Regions from separate parts of the Homo sapiens genome. Here region 2 is linked to region 1. The links are contacts of gene promoters, found by promoter capture Hi-C in blood cells and fetal thymus (Javierre and others, 2016). All regions are on one chromosome and are shown on one strand. Each heading gives the region's core, a stretch centred on a gene start or on the middle of the fragment in contact. The rest is flanking DNA. Distances are from core to core; before and after follow the strand shown. Region 1 holds the start of AVIL (advillin). Region 2 holds the start of CYP27B1 (cytochrome P450 family 27 subfamily B member 1).

Evidence for each region. Contacts are between HindIII fragments. The CHiCAGO score rates a contact against its expected background, and 5 or more counts as called.
Region 2: the fragment with the promoter of CYP27B1 here is called in contact with the fragment with the promoter of AVIL in region 1 in 5 of 17 cell types (M0 macrophages, M1 macrophages, M2 macrophages and 2 more); the score reaches 11.2 in M0 macrophages.

What each region holds. Positions count from the first base shown.
Region 1 is chr12:57,814,878-57,822,045 of GRCh38, reverse strand. AVIL (advillin) reads left to right here and starts at 3,312. Exons shown (of 20, transcript NM_006576.4): 1 at 3,312-3,417; 2 at 5,987-6,071. The coding sequence starts at 6,006. It overlaps CTDSP2 (CTD small phosphatase 2), which reads left to right. Exons shown (of 8, transcript NM_005730.4): 8 at 1-2,119. The HindIII fragment of the contact is 1,940 bases long and covers 3,190-5,129 here.
Region 2 is chr12:57,765,415-57,772,493 of GRCh38, reverse strand. CYP27B1 (cytochrome P450 family 27 subfamily B member 1) reads left to right here and starts at 5,416. Exons shown (of 9, transcript NM_000785.4): 1 at 5,416-5,647; 2 at 6,297-6,487; 3 at 6,995-7,079. The coding sequence starts at 5,453. METTL1 (methyltransferase 1, tRNA methylguanosine) reads left to right here and starts at 389. Exons shown (of 6, transcript NM_005371.6): 1 at 389-520; 2 at 1,237-1,400; 3 at 2,538-2,722; 4 at 2,816-2,929; 5 at 3,090-3,191; 6 at 3,343-4,023. The coding sequence starts at 411. The coding sequence ends at 3,498. RefSeq lists enhancers at 1-225, 356-645, 331-1,530. The HindIII fragment of the contact is 11,205 bases long and covers 4,533-7,079 here.

The sequences.
Region 1 (7,168 bases), core at 2,063-4,562:
GCATTTGTGAATTGCTTTAGGTGCAGGGACACCACCCACTCAGGACTCTTCCCCATCATCCCTTCCATTGCCACACCCTAGATCCAGCCTCAGGAACTAACAAGTTTTGAGAAAAGCAGGTAGTAGAGCAGCAGCTTCGTGCTCTCAGCGGTGGCTGGCTGGCATTTTTCTCTAGCGTTGTGGTGCCACCTTCCCTTCTTGTCCCAAGGTTATAAGGCCTTGTCTTTCTCTTTGGAATCATAAAGTGGAACAGAGTCCCCAGAACTCATGTGGCCATTTCCGCCAGCATCACTCCCCGGTGCCTATGGGGTCCCGGTGTACCTAAAGGGAGAAGGACCCCATGTGCTAGCCAGAAATATACTGTCTCTTGAAGGAAAGCAGGAGCTCAGACTCTTAGAGCCAGCTGTGGCTTCGGACCCAAGGCCTGACCTAGGCTGCTATCCTAATATTGCAGGAGGGGCCTCTCTTCCAAGCCCCACCCTAAGGGTTAGCCCTTGGCCAAATCTTTTGCCGTCTAGGCCCAGCCAGGCTTTTCTGACTAAATAAGCAATAAGAGGCTCTAAGCTGACTGAGTTGCAAGGACCCTTTCCGCCCTCCCTTGGATCTCCATGTTTTTCCAGATGGCGGAAGAGCATGTGCCACCCCCTTTCCTAACAGACTTGTCCAAGTGCTTGGCGTGGGACCCATGACCAAAGCCCAGGATGGCTTGGTGGGAGTGTCCCTGCTGCATCTGCATGAAGCCCCTGCTTTTTAGGCCTCACTCCCATCAGAACCCTGCCTGCCCACCTGCAACTCCCCCCCAACAATGCCATTCCCACTTGCCCCAGAGAAGCTACTCGGCCAAACCTAGCCAGGGTCTGTTCTTGTGGACCAGAGCCAGCCTAGTCATTATTTGCTGTCGGGTTTCCAGTTTCACCGTGTGTTAGGGTGAGGGATGATTGTAAAATTTGCTCCTCAAAGGAATCAGGCCAGACTCAATTTTGGAGGGCAAGACAGGGAGGAGGCCGCTTCATCCCAGACTCTCTTCTAGGGCTTCCCACCATCAGCCCCTCCCACTTGAGACTGGTCTTTGGGAGGCAATAGGCCACCATGCCTGGTCAGCACCAATTCAAGCCATGCCAGGAATCTGCCTACCTGCCAGGTTCAGTTCTTTTAAGGTGCCTCTTCAGGGACACAGTGTGTCTCTCTGATTGGGCTTCTAAATCAAAAGCCTGATGTTCGTGTCCCTCTCATAGGGGGAGCTTTGGACACAGGACCAGTTTGGAAAAGGGTCAGGTAAGGGTTTCCACTCTGCACATTGTAGAGGGAACACTCTGTAGGCCCATGGGTCCCTTACTAGAGAGGTTGAGTGAATTTGCCTTCAGTTAACATGGGACCTTCTGTTTAGCTTCCTCTTGCTTCCCAAAGATTTTAAGCATTTTGTAAATGTATAAACTCACCTCTGGTAACAGTGGCCCAGACGCTGCTTTGTGCTAAAAGCATGGGAAATGTAAAGGCAGTCTTTCTCTGGGAAATGGATGCTATTCTATTCTGCTGCCCCTACCTGTTCCTGAGGCCTCATTTAGAAAGAAAATCCCCTCAGAAGGCTGTCTGGCACCCAGTGTCCTAGCCAGGCCAAGTATATGAGAAAGGTAAGTCCATTTTCCCCTTCAGGTCCTCAGTGGATTACTTAACCACTGCTGTCCCTCGGTCCCTTTTTCCTAAACGGGTTTAGTTCTGTCTTTTTTCTCCTTTTTTCTAAATGCTGGTAAATATTTACATTCAGCCAGGGAAGAGGAGGCCAGAGGTCGGGCCAGCTGCCCCATTCTTTTAACGTTGTAGGGCCTGCCCATGGAGCGGACCCTCCTCTTTGGGCCTCGTGAGCTTTTTTGCTTATCATGTTCCATTTCGTGCCGCTTTCCCCCTTCAAGATGCCATTTGGAGGGTAGGGGATCTGCTTCCCACTGTGACTGGGCTATGGGATTCTGACTACCTTGCTTACAGATTCATGGTTTGATAAATTTGTTGTATTCAAAAACTTGAAATGCAGGACGCCATTAAGTGTCTGTTTATATTTTTGGAATATTTGTATTACTTACAATTAATTAATAAAAGTGGGTTTAAAAAACCTTTCCAGGAATGTGAGCTGCCACCAACCTTCATTGGCCCTTAAGTGTTCACTGGGCCCATGGCAAGCACCGCCTTTCTTCTCGCAACCCCTTCCATCATGAAGCAGCTGCACCCCCGGGCTGAGTGGGGTGTTGCACCCACCGGGAGGCCAGCTGCAGATGCCACACAGGGCTTCCGCTCAAGGTTACACAAGTTCTGCTGTGATCAACCCCATTGCAGTCAGGTGCTTAGCACGTGTATATGCTTGATGTCCTATTGACTTCTGGGCATGAACCAGAAGCCCTAAGGGAATGGATTATTATTTTTTTTTTTTTTTTTGAAATGGAGTCTTGCTCTGTTGCCCAGGCTAGAGGCAGTGGCATGATCTCAGCTCACTGCAACCTCCACCTCCCAGGTTCAAGCGATTCTCCTGCCTCAGTCTCCTGAGTAGCTGGGATTACAGGCGCCTGCCAGCACGCCCGGCTCATTTTTGTATTTTTAGTAGAGATGGGGTTTCACCATCTTGGCCAGGCTGTTTTCAAACTCCTCACATTGTGATCCACCCACCTCAGCCTCCCAAAGTGCTGGGATTACAGGCGTGAGCCACCACCACACCCAGCCCTGGGAATGGAGTCTTGATTCTTCTCTGCCCCTCACTGATTCTTCCAAACTGGAAACCCTGAAGCTGAGAGCCCAGCATGGTTCCTGGCAAACAGCAGGCACTCAAATATTGATTGGTTTACTGTATGACTAGTAGAGACCCCAACGAGCAAAACTGTGGCCTAATAAAATTCTGGCTCCTCTCCCAGACTTCCCCTCCCTTTGAGAAATGCCAGAAGCTTCTTAGGGAGGCTCTTGCCAACCTAGACATCACAGGCACTCATGGGGCAGCTCCAGCCTCTTCCTCCTGTCATCACCATAATGCATCCATATCTACAATATGGCAAATTTCATATCCTTCCAACCTCTTTCCTGCATTATTGATGGGCTGTGTGCACTTTTTAAAAAATCAATTAGATCAGGGCGTGGAGCTGGAGTTCAAAGAAGCCTTTAAAAGTCTGCTCTTCTGTTTTGCTGTTTTGAATAGGCACAGATAAAGCTTTCCCTCTGGTTTGAATAAGCCAAGCTCAGTGCTAGGTTGGCTCTGATTGGCCAGGACTAGGAAAATGCGGTTAAGATGCAAACACAAGCAAATATAACCCAGTATCTCTGCGGCCATTACTAAGCTAAGGCAGCAGGACCTGGAGCCTCCTGCTTTGGAGTGGTTCTTCAATACTGCTGCTGCTTACGCGCCGGGAAACTGGGAAGGCTGGTGAGCGAGAAGGCAAGGTAAGGTCTCTGATTTACGGGGGCATGCCAGTTAATCCTCCTGAATGAGGAAGAAATGAAAGGAAGAGGAGCTTGAGAGTCCCTTGGCTTTGTCTTCTGAGATGAGGCTTTTAAAATGAACCAGGAGTCTGGCTGGCCAGTTTTGCAAACTTCTTGTTCAGAAGAACCCCTTAGAGGCAGCTGAACATATAGGGCACATTTTCAAAAGCTGGGAAAGACAGACCCCTTTCACCTATCCCTAGAGAAAGATGGTATGGAGCAAGGCAGGAGGAGTTAAAACCAGCTTCCTGGCCCAGAGAGGTGGCTTACACCTGTAATCCCAACACTTTGGGAAGCCAGGGCATGAGGATTGTTTGAGCCCAGGAGTTTGTAACTTGTGACCATCCTGGGCAACATAGTGAGACCCTGTCTCTACAAAAAAAAAAAAAAAAAAAAAAAAAAAAAAAGCCAAGCATGGTGGTGCACACCTGTGGTCTCAGCTTCTCAGGAGGCTGAGGCAGAAGGATCACTTGAGCCCAGGAGGTGGCGGTTGCAGTGAGCCGTGATTGTACCACTGCACTCCAGCCTGGGTGACAGAGCAAGACCCTGTCTCAAAAACAACAACAACAAAAAACAGCTTCCTCTGCTCAGGGTCCGTCCAAAAGGGCATCTCTGAGAATTACAGGCCACTGGCTTTTAACCTGACATTTCAAAACTGTGCCCCACACCCAAGGGGTTTCTGCAGTCCTCTCAAAGGATACTGAATTAGGATTTAGGGAGAAGGAGAGACCCAGCTTTGGGAGATTTGATGTCAGAACTGTGTTTTCTGTGTGTTCCAGTGTGACAGGAAGTCCCTTCCTGGAGCTTATCCTCTCGCATTCGGGGTGCCTGGCCCAGGGAGCTCCTTGATTCCTAAATTCCTGCTGGGAAACGGGACAGGTTTCAGCCTCTGAGGCTCACAGTCCTAATTGCTGCCGGCTGGTTTGGCTTTTACCAGGGTGACAGTTCTCTGTCTCCAAGGAATGAATTCAGTGGCCCTTGTCCCCTTCCCCTAGTTGGCTCATGGCTTTTGCCTTTAATGACTGCTACGTAGGGTCTGAAGAAAACCCAAACACCATATTTCCTGGCAATTCTGAGCAGCACAGGGTGGGGCAGCACAAGTTATCAAATTAAATTCTCAAACACTGGCTGCTCCGCACCATTGCCTTGCTTTAGTCCTGCTACAGCAGTAGACAAAGCGAGTCTGCTTTGAGCTTTATGGTTTTTTGCCAAAGTCCATACTAGATGGCGCATGCTCTCCAAACTTGGCTTTGTCCATCAAGGTTCAAGAAAACAATGGTCAGACATGTTCCTCTTAACAAACAGTATGTCCCCAAACAGCAAAAATGCATACAGTCCTTTCTGGGTGAATTTTTAAATCTTACATAAATCCATCAACCCCATCCTTTTTCCTTTGCCTCTTGGGAGAAATTAATCTAGCTTTACATTAATTATGCATGTTATCAGATTTCAAGCTCCTTGAGAGCAGGTATTTTAATTCTATAAAGCCTCTACGTGGCCTTGGACATGGGTAGGTGCTTAATTACCCAAGATGCTCCTTGAATACAGATGGTACACGACCTACACAGACTTAGATCTTTACCACTTCCCCCCTCTCCCCACCCTGACTTGCTCAATCCTGAAGGAACTGGAGACGTCTAAGTGTCTGAGGTTCACGCTTCCACACAGAAGCTTGGGTCTGTGTGGGAGGGAAAAAGGAAGCCATCTGTCCGCAGGCCAGACCAGGCCACACCCTGCTAGCACCCAGAACCCTTTGTCCCAGGCCCAGCCCTGCCATTTTACTTTCCTTGCATCTGGAAAGCACAGGGAATATAGTAGTGACAAAAGAAGGAAGGGTTGTTTGAGTTTAAGAATAGTTTACTCTAAAAAAAAAAAAAAAAAAAAAAAAAGGACAAAAGCCAAAGAGAAGGTCAAAGTTGACTGTGGAGAAGGCCTTGCAAGCAGGGAACTTGGGAAGAATTGGAATGAGAGTGAGAGAAGGCAACTGAGTTTGGAAATATTTTTTCTGACTAGCTTTTCTTTCCAAATGCCACTGAACTTAGATTGGTTTAGGAAGGGTTGTAGTACATCAAAGTGGCTAGAAGCACAGGTTTGGGGATCAGATAAGGATTTCATTCTAGAGTGTGATCTTGTACAAGTTATTCAGCCTTTGCAAACCTCAGATTCACACAATGTAAGATGAAGAAACTCACCTTCTGAAAATTAGAGATAACATATGCAAAGTGAATCAATACAGGGCTTAACATATTTATCACCCCTTTGGTAAATAACCATGACGATTACCAGAGCTCTTAAGGGCAATGGCAGGTGGGAAGCAGAACTCATGGGTGGTAATCCCCAGGCCAGCCAGGCTCACCATGTGCACTTGGACAAGTCCTTGCCCCCATCATTGTGAAATGGTGCAGGGATGCACCATGAGGGTGTGGCAGGATGGCTGACAACAGACTGGGAAGCAGCTCGGCAGAAAAACTGGATTGATGCCCACTATGGCAAGAGATATCATCTCCCCTCTTGTTCTGTGATGTTTCAGTCCTGGAAAGACAAGCATCATGCCTCTGACCAGTGCCTTCAGGGCTGTGGACAACGACCCTGGGATCATTGTCTGGAGAATAGAGGTGAGCTGGGCTGGAGGCACCTTACTTGTGACCACTGGCATCTGGAAGCAGTCTGGCTGCCTGGGGCTGCTAGGCAACAGCCCGCCAGCACCCCTTAGCCTATGGTTTGAGGAGAATGAGAGGCAGCATCAAAGTACCTATTTCCCATCCTTCACCTCTCCTGGGTGCTCAAAGCAGGTGGTTGGCAGGTGGAGGAAATGTTCAGCCCCGAAGAACAGGGCTCCAGACAAAAACAGGCTTGTCCTTTAGCCAGCCACCTGCTCAGTGAGTCTGCACTTGCAGGAAACACCCTGGAAAGACAGGTGGGACCTACTCAGCAGACTCCTGGCAGCTTCCATCAGAGAAATGGAACATGTCTTCCACGGGGCACCCTGGCTCCTACAAAATATGGGGAGAGGTGAGGGGGCACTGCAGAGATGAGGAGCTGTTCAGCCCGTCTCCTCTTGGGCTTGGGACCCTCTGTGCGGCTGTGAGCTCCAGCAATCCATAGCTGGGAACCACCCTGGCCTGGGTAGCTCCACCTGCCAGATACGAGGATTCCCCCCAACCCCTGCCCTGAGCCCAGTCAGTTGCTGCTGCCTAAAACCCAGCGATGATGCCTCACTTCACTATCCTCAACCAGGAGGGGGAGTCAGCTCTCCAGCAAGCCTCGCAGAGATTGTGAGTCCCAGGTCACTTCCACTGTTTGAAGGCTTCCAGTTTCCTTAAAAACTAACAGGTACTGGCGGGGTGCGGTGGCTCACGCCTGTAATCCCAGCACTCTGGGAGGCTGAGGCGGGTGGATCACGAAGTCAGGAGATTGAGACCATCCTGGCTAACACAGTGAAACCCCACCTCTACTAAAAATACAAAAAATTAGCTGGGCATGGTGGCAGGCGCCTATAGTCCCAGCTACTCAGGAGGCTGAGGCAGGAGAATGGCGTGAACCCGGGAGGCGGAGCTTGCAGTGAGCCGAGATCGCGCCACTGCACTCCAGCCTGGGAGACACAGGGAGACTCCCTCTCAAAAAAAACAAAAACAAAAACAAAAAACAAGTACTAAAACACGGTTACCAGATTTGCAGTATATTTAACATTTATCACATTTTACATAGAACA
Region 2 (7,079 bases), core at 4,167-6,666, 52 kb after region 1:
AGTCAGACCGGGCGGACTGGTCCGAGACCAGGAGTAAGGGGACAGGAGCGAGGACTGATGCCACTGTAGAAGGCGAGGTCTCTAGACCCCTCTCACCTGTGGGGTGCACAGGTGCCTGCAACCAGGATGGTAACCCAGACCAGGCAGAAGCAAGCTAAGAGAAAACGTTGGGTCCCTGGGCCTGGCCTCGCCCTCCCAGTTGGAGGCTAACGGTGCGGAGGTTCCCTCCAGCACTCGCTCCTTACAGCCCTCCCCACCTAGCCCAGCCCAGCCCAGCCCAGCCCAGCTGAATTTGCTCTTGGGTCTTTAAGGGGCGGGAACTGCCACCAACGCGCATGGCTGCGTCATTAACTTGCGCCTCTGGCCTGCGCCTCCACGTGGATTTGGTAGAGAAACCCCGGACTGGGATCATGGCAGCCGAGACTCGGAACGTGGCCGGAGCAGAGGCCCCACCGCCCCAGAAGCGCTACTACCGGCAACGTGCTCACTCCAACCCCATGGCGGACCACACGCTGCGCTAGTGAGGAGTGGGCAGAGGGAGAGAGAGGAGGGCGGGATTCTCAAAGCAGCCGGGAGAGCAGTTGTGCTGCAACTGCTGGGAGGATTTGGGGTAGACCCGGGAGGATCAGATGGGTGACGTCAGTTTTTGGGGGTGGGACCGGGAGATTCGACCGAGAGAGGAGTTGGCGGGTTGAGAGTGGGCGTGGCGTTCGGGCCTAAGTCTGGGTAGCGGTGCTAAGTTTGGGAAGAGAAATAAATTGTTACTGAGACTGAAGTGATAGAGGCAGAATGTCGTTTCCATCTTTTGCTTTTGTTTGTTGGATTTAATAAAAAGGCAAACATATACACAATCCTGCCCGCACCTTACCTTACCTTCCCTCCCCGCAGAGCACAAACACAAAGTAGGATCCCAGTGCATTAGGCAGCCAGTCTCGGGAGAAGGGGAACTTGTGCCCCAGAAAGGGCAGTTACCCGGCCAGGGTCACATCAACCGCCAGAAGTGGAGTTGGGCAGGTCAGCGTTTATGGGCCTCATGATGGTCCTATGATTCACACTGGGAGTTAAGGGTGGTTTCCATTGTCCCTCTTAGAGGCCACAGGGCCCAGTGTTACAGAATTTTTGAGAAACCCTCCTCCCTTTTACCTCCCACCCTCACCCACCCACACACTCTCACAGTACCACTTCTGCAATGGTGTGACCAACCTTCTCATGCTTCTTATGTCTTCTTTCCAATAGCCCTGTGAAGCCAGAGGAGATGGACTGGTCTGAGCTATACCCAGAGTTCTTCGCTCCACTCACTCAAAATCAGAGCCACGATGACCCAAAGGATAAGAAAGAAAAGAGAGCTCAGGCCCAAGTGGAGTTTGCAGACATAGGCTGTGGCTATGGTGGCCTGTTAGGTAACACTCAGGCCCTCTTTTTGGGGTGAGAAGAGGCCTAGTAGCTTCTGCTGCCTCAGCAACTTTTGTGGGGGGTCATAATTGGCCTTTCCCCTTTCGTCCAGACACTGGTGACATCAGCATGGAGAGGCTCCACCTACCCTCTACTCTGGGTCTGTGACCTTTGCCCTGGAGAGTGGAGGGGGCTGCCTCAAATGCTTCTTAAAACCTGGGTTGTCCTTTCTGGCGTCAATCCCTACATGAGCCATTTCATCTGCCAGGTTCCGGGTCAGTGAGCTGGTCAGCACAAGCATCAGAGATTAGCCGTTGTGGCCAGTGATCCTGAACTGTCTTTTCTCAGAGATTCTACCATCTCCCCTCCCCTTTGCCCCTCCCTCGCCAGATCTCATTCCTTCTGCCCCACTCTCCTGTTTTTTGGGTTCCTCTTGTATTGTCTGTATTGTCCCACCCATGCATGCCAAGCCACTCCCTATTTTTAGATCTTCCCAAACAGATAACAGCCTGATAGAGAAGAAGAGCATGGTACATAGAGGCAGAAAACCTTGGTTTAAGGTCCAGTTCTGCCTGGGCACAGTGGCTCACACCTGTAATCCCAACACTTTGGGAGGCTGAGGCAGGTGGACCACTTGAGGCCAGGAGTTCAAGACCAGCTACTCAGGAGGCTGAGGCAGGAGAATTACTTGAACCTGGGAGGCAGAGATTGCAGTGAGCCAAGATTGTGCCACTGCACTCCAGCCTGGGTGACAGAGCAAGACTCCATCTCAAATAAATAAGTTCCAGTTCTGCCCCTTCTTAACTCTATGATCTTCGGCATATCTGACCCTCAGTTTCCTTATCTTCACAATTTACCACAGAGTGTTATAAGGATGAAATAACACAATGTGTGAAAACACTGTGGAAAACTCTAAAGCAATGGCAAATATACATGTATCCTCAGCCCTCCCATTCTGGTCCTGGTGACAATTTTCATTTCTCCCCCCGCCTCTTGAGCATAAAACTATCCATATATGTATCTCTGTCCTCTCTTGCCGTTCTGGACTTTGGTAGTTGCAGGTTGAGGCTTCCTTTCCTGTGTTGACCCCTTTGCACTTCCTACAAGTATATGGTTGATGATTCCATTGCTATTTCTGTGTGCAGTGGAACTGTCACCGCTGTTCCCAGACACACTTATTCTGGGTCTGGAGATCCGGGTGAAGGTCTCAGACTATGTACAAGACCGGATTCGGGCCCTACGCGCAGCTCCTGCAGGTGGCTTCCAGAACATCGCCTGTCTCCGTAGCAATGCCATGAAGCACCTTCCTAACTTCTTCTACAAGGGCCAGGTGGGGAGGGGCCCTGGTGGGTTAGGCTGGTAGGCAGGTGGGGGCATGGAGGCCAGGCTCTCACAACCCTGTTGGTGTGTGTCTGTCTCACAGCTGACAAAGATGTTCTTCCTCTTCCCCGACCCACATTTCAAGCGGACAAAGCACAAGTGGCGAATCATCAGTCCCACCCTGCTAGCAGAATATGCCTACGTGCTAAGAGTTGGGGTGAGTTGGGATCGGAGGGATGATGGGGTGAGTGGCCTACTCAGGGGCCCTTCACTAAGAATTCAGTGGGGGTGCATTTAGGGACTCACACCACCACTTCCTTCATCTGGCTGCTGACGTTGCATGCAGCCTCCTGTCTAGGGTGATTTTGCCTATGCAGGGGCTGGTGTATACCATAACCGATGTGCTGGAGCTACACGACTGGATGTGCACTCATTTCGAAGAGCACCCACTGTTTGAGCGTGTGCCTCTGGAGGACCTGGTGAGTAGGGGACCTAGAGGAGGTGGAGGCCCTTTCCAGAGTGGTTCTGTATTTGGACTTAACTCAGTGCCAGGAGGATGGGATAGGTGTCTAAGGGCCAGGGGCAGTCTGAACAGTGGGCAAGGACTTATTGGACCCTTCCTTCTCCCAGAGTGAAGACCCCGTTGTGGGACATCTAGGCACCTCAACTGAGGAGGGGAAGAAAGTTCTACGTAATGGAGGGAAGAATTTCCCAGCCATCTTCCGAAGAATACAAGATCCCGTCCTCCAGGCAGTGACCTCCCAAACCAGCCTGCCTGGTCACTGACTGCTTACTCTACCTTAGCTGGACCTCGTCTCCCAGGGATTAGAGAAAAGAGCAGGAGTCCTGGGTCTTCCCAGTTGAGACTGCTGGAGCTGAGACACAGTACTCTCTTAAAGAAGGTGGGGAGCTGCCCAGGGCAGAACCCACTGGTGTTCATGACTACCCCTGGCTCCTCTCACCTTGTCCCTCCACTGCCAACAGAAAACAAAGCAGCTGACTGAGATGGTCAAAGGACTTTGGACCATAGGGGATCTTTGGAAGGCTGTGGGGTCTTGCTCTTCCTTAGCACTCCTTTCTCCTTGTGAGATCTCTCCTCAGCTGGAATGAGGAATGTAGTCCATCTAAACTGCTTGCTAGGCTCAATTACCACTTCTGTTTGCTTTGTGGATCCTGGGATAACATGTATATGTGTACACATGCCTATTCTGCCATTTCTCAGGAAAGGGTGGAGTATGTATCATATGCCTTCTACCATCCTCCTGTCCTCTCCCTGCGTAAGACTTGACCTGGGGAATCTGTGTTCCCTAAGTGTTGTCTCTGGAGAGTCCTTGGGAAGGTGTGGGGGTGGAGACCCTCTCCTTTTTCACATTGACCTTCAATTCCAGAACTTCAGAGCTAGCTGACTGGCACAGAGCCTGATAGAGTTGCAGTGGGGAATGAGGGAGTAAGGAGCAGAGAGGTAAACTGTGGGAGATTCTTTTATTTTAATTTTTTTTAGAGACAGGCCCTCTCTCTGTTGCCTAGGCTGGAGTGCAGTGGTACAATCATAACTCACTGCAGCCTTGACCTCCCGGGCTCATGTAATCCACCTCAGCCTCTCAAGGCACTACAGGCATACGCCACCATGCCTGGCTAATTTTTGTATTTTTTGTAGAGACAGTTCCACTATGTTGCCCAGGCTGGTCTCAGACTCCTGAGCTCAAGCAGTCTGCCCACCTTAGCCTCCCAAAGTGTTGGGATTACAGTCATGAGCTGCCGTGCCCAGCCTAATTTTTAAACTTCTTCTGTAGAGACAGTCTTGCTATGTTGCTCAAGCTTGTCTCAACCTCCTGGCCTCATGCCATCCTCCTGCCTCAGCCTCCCAAAGTGCTGGGATTATAGGCATGAGCCACCACAGGATTCTGAGGCTAAAAGTAGAAAGGAGCTGCTAACCAGAAAGCCCCCCAGAGGAGACCGAGTCAGCTGGGGAATTAGAACATCCACATCCATTTAGCTCCTCTAACACCCCACAGACAATCTCTGAACTTAACTAATGTACAAAAAGTTTCATTTCTGCTTCTCAAGCCCCAAATTCCCATGTCTGGAAGGAGGGGGCTTGTATACCCAAGAGACCCCCTTATCCTCAAGAAAGAAAGATGGAGGTTCTAGGAGCCATTTTAGCCCATTAACCCACCTGCCATCTGCCCAGTATATGTTAGGTACAGGAGGAGGGGGAGGTGTGGCTAGTGCAGGAAAATAATGCAGAGAAGATACAACCCACTAAGCCAAGAATGTGGGGACAGTTACAGCTGTGCCTCCCCTGCTTCCCTTCCTGGAGGAGCTGAAAGATGGGGAATTCCTGAGGATGGGCCTAAAGGGGCTGGGCTCACTGGTAGAAGTGGGAATATCAGAGACTGACTAGTGTAGCTTGGTCACCTAGTCCCTACTAAAAAGCCTTATAGCCTTTCCTAGGATGAGACTTTGAGGCTCCTAGACAAAGGCACTCTCCCAGGAGGAAAATCTTAGGCCCTCCCTCCCATGAGGGTCATTGCAACATGAGACCCAAGGGAGTTGTGAAGTCAGCCCCAGCCCCGCCTACTGTTCCTGGGTGCTAATCCCCAGCACAGACCACTCAGGAGGAGGGATTGGCTGAGGAGCTTGGAGAGGGGGCGTCATCACCTCACCCAAAGGTTAAATAGGGGTTGAGATATGATGCTCAGGAGAAGCGCTTTCTTTCGCGAGCACCCTGAACCAGACCATGACCCAGACCCTCAAGTACGCCTCCAGAGTGTTCCATCGCGTCCGCTGGGCGCCCGAGTTGGGCGCCTCCCTAGGCTACCGAGAGTACCACTCAGCACGCCGGAGCTTGGCAGACATCCCAGGCCCCTCTACGCCCAGCTTTCTGGCCGAACTTTTCTGCAAGGGGGGGCTGTCGAGGCTACACGAGCTGCAGGTAGGAAGGGACGCCTTTCCCGAGACAGAGTGCTGGGGAAACTGGTTTTGACAGCGTCAGAAAGGACTGACTAGTGCAGAGCAAATGTGGGACAGCCAGAGAGAACGGATGCCCATGAAATAAGGAAAAGGCGAGTTGAGGCTGGGGGCGGTGTGGCTACACTCGGGCAGAGCCCGTCCCGACTCTTAGCAGAGGGCGCTGCGAAAGCGCCTTCTCGCTGTCCTGAGGTGTGGAGATCCTGCAGATAAAGTACAAGTGCGCGGGAGGGGGAGGCCGGAGTGGGCAGTACCCTCCGCCTGCTTGCGGCTTAAAGCTACATGGGTTCCTTTTCATTCACTGAGGACTCGTCCTGAGATGGACAGTCCAGACATGGAACTTTTAGAGATTTCTCCTCGACCGAGATGATCAGAGAGGTCCTGAATGTCTGCCTTGCACAAAGTTCCGGTTTTGCCCATCACACTCAAACTTTCTAGGGATGGGAAATGAGAGAGGAGGAGTTTGCAGTATCAAAGGCATACACTAGTTGGGCACCCGAGAAAGAGCAGAAGCTCCCTATTCCCAAGCCCAGTCAACGCCCTTGGCGTGGGCACAGGTCAAGCTGAAAGTCCCCGCCCAGGTATCCAAGTGTCCGCTGTGTCCGCTCCCCCAGGTGCAGGGCGCCGCGCACTTCGGGCCGGTGTGGCTAGCCAGCTTTGGGACAGTGCGCACCGTGTACGTGGCTGCCCCTGCACTCGTCGAGGAGCTGCTGCGACAGGAGGGACCCCGGCCCGAGCGCTGCAGCTTCTCGCCCTGGACGGAGCACCGCCGCTGCCGCCAGCGGGCTTGCGGACTGCTCACTGCGTGAGTCTTCTCTGCCCCCAGAAGCCCAGACGCCCTGCAGCGGCCCTCTCCTGCTGCGGGTCCCGAAACTATCAATCTGGGGGCATGGTGGGAGGTCGGCTGTCCCACTCTACCATTGGGCATCTTGGGGTTCCCATCCCAGTCTGCTTCACCCACACTCAGGTTGAGCCCCAACCTCACTCCCCGCCTACCTCCTTATCCTTTGAGGCCCGAATCCTGGGAACTGGGGGAACCGGAGGAATTGGGCTAGGGTACAAGGATCTGGATGGAATGAATGTAAGGTTCTGTGACTCAAGTTACCCGGGAACCCCGGCCCCTGAGGGCAGGAAATGAGTAAAGAGGAAGGGGGCTGGAAGACAGGCGCAGGCCGGTGCAGGTTTCCGTACCCCAAGGGGGCAGACGCAATCCCTCTCCTGGCCACCGCAGCCGAACGCGCTCCTTCACTGCAGCCAGTCCCGTCGAGCCGTCCCCACCTTCCCGATGCGCACTCTCTCCTCAACCCTGCAGGGAAGGCGAAGAATGGCAAAGGCTCCGCAGTCTCCTGGCCCCGCTCCTCCTCCGGCCTCAAGCGGCCGCCCGCTACGCCGGAACC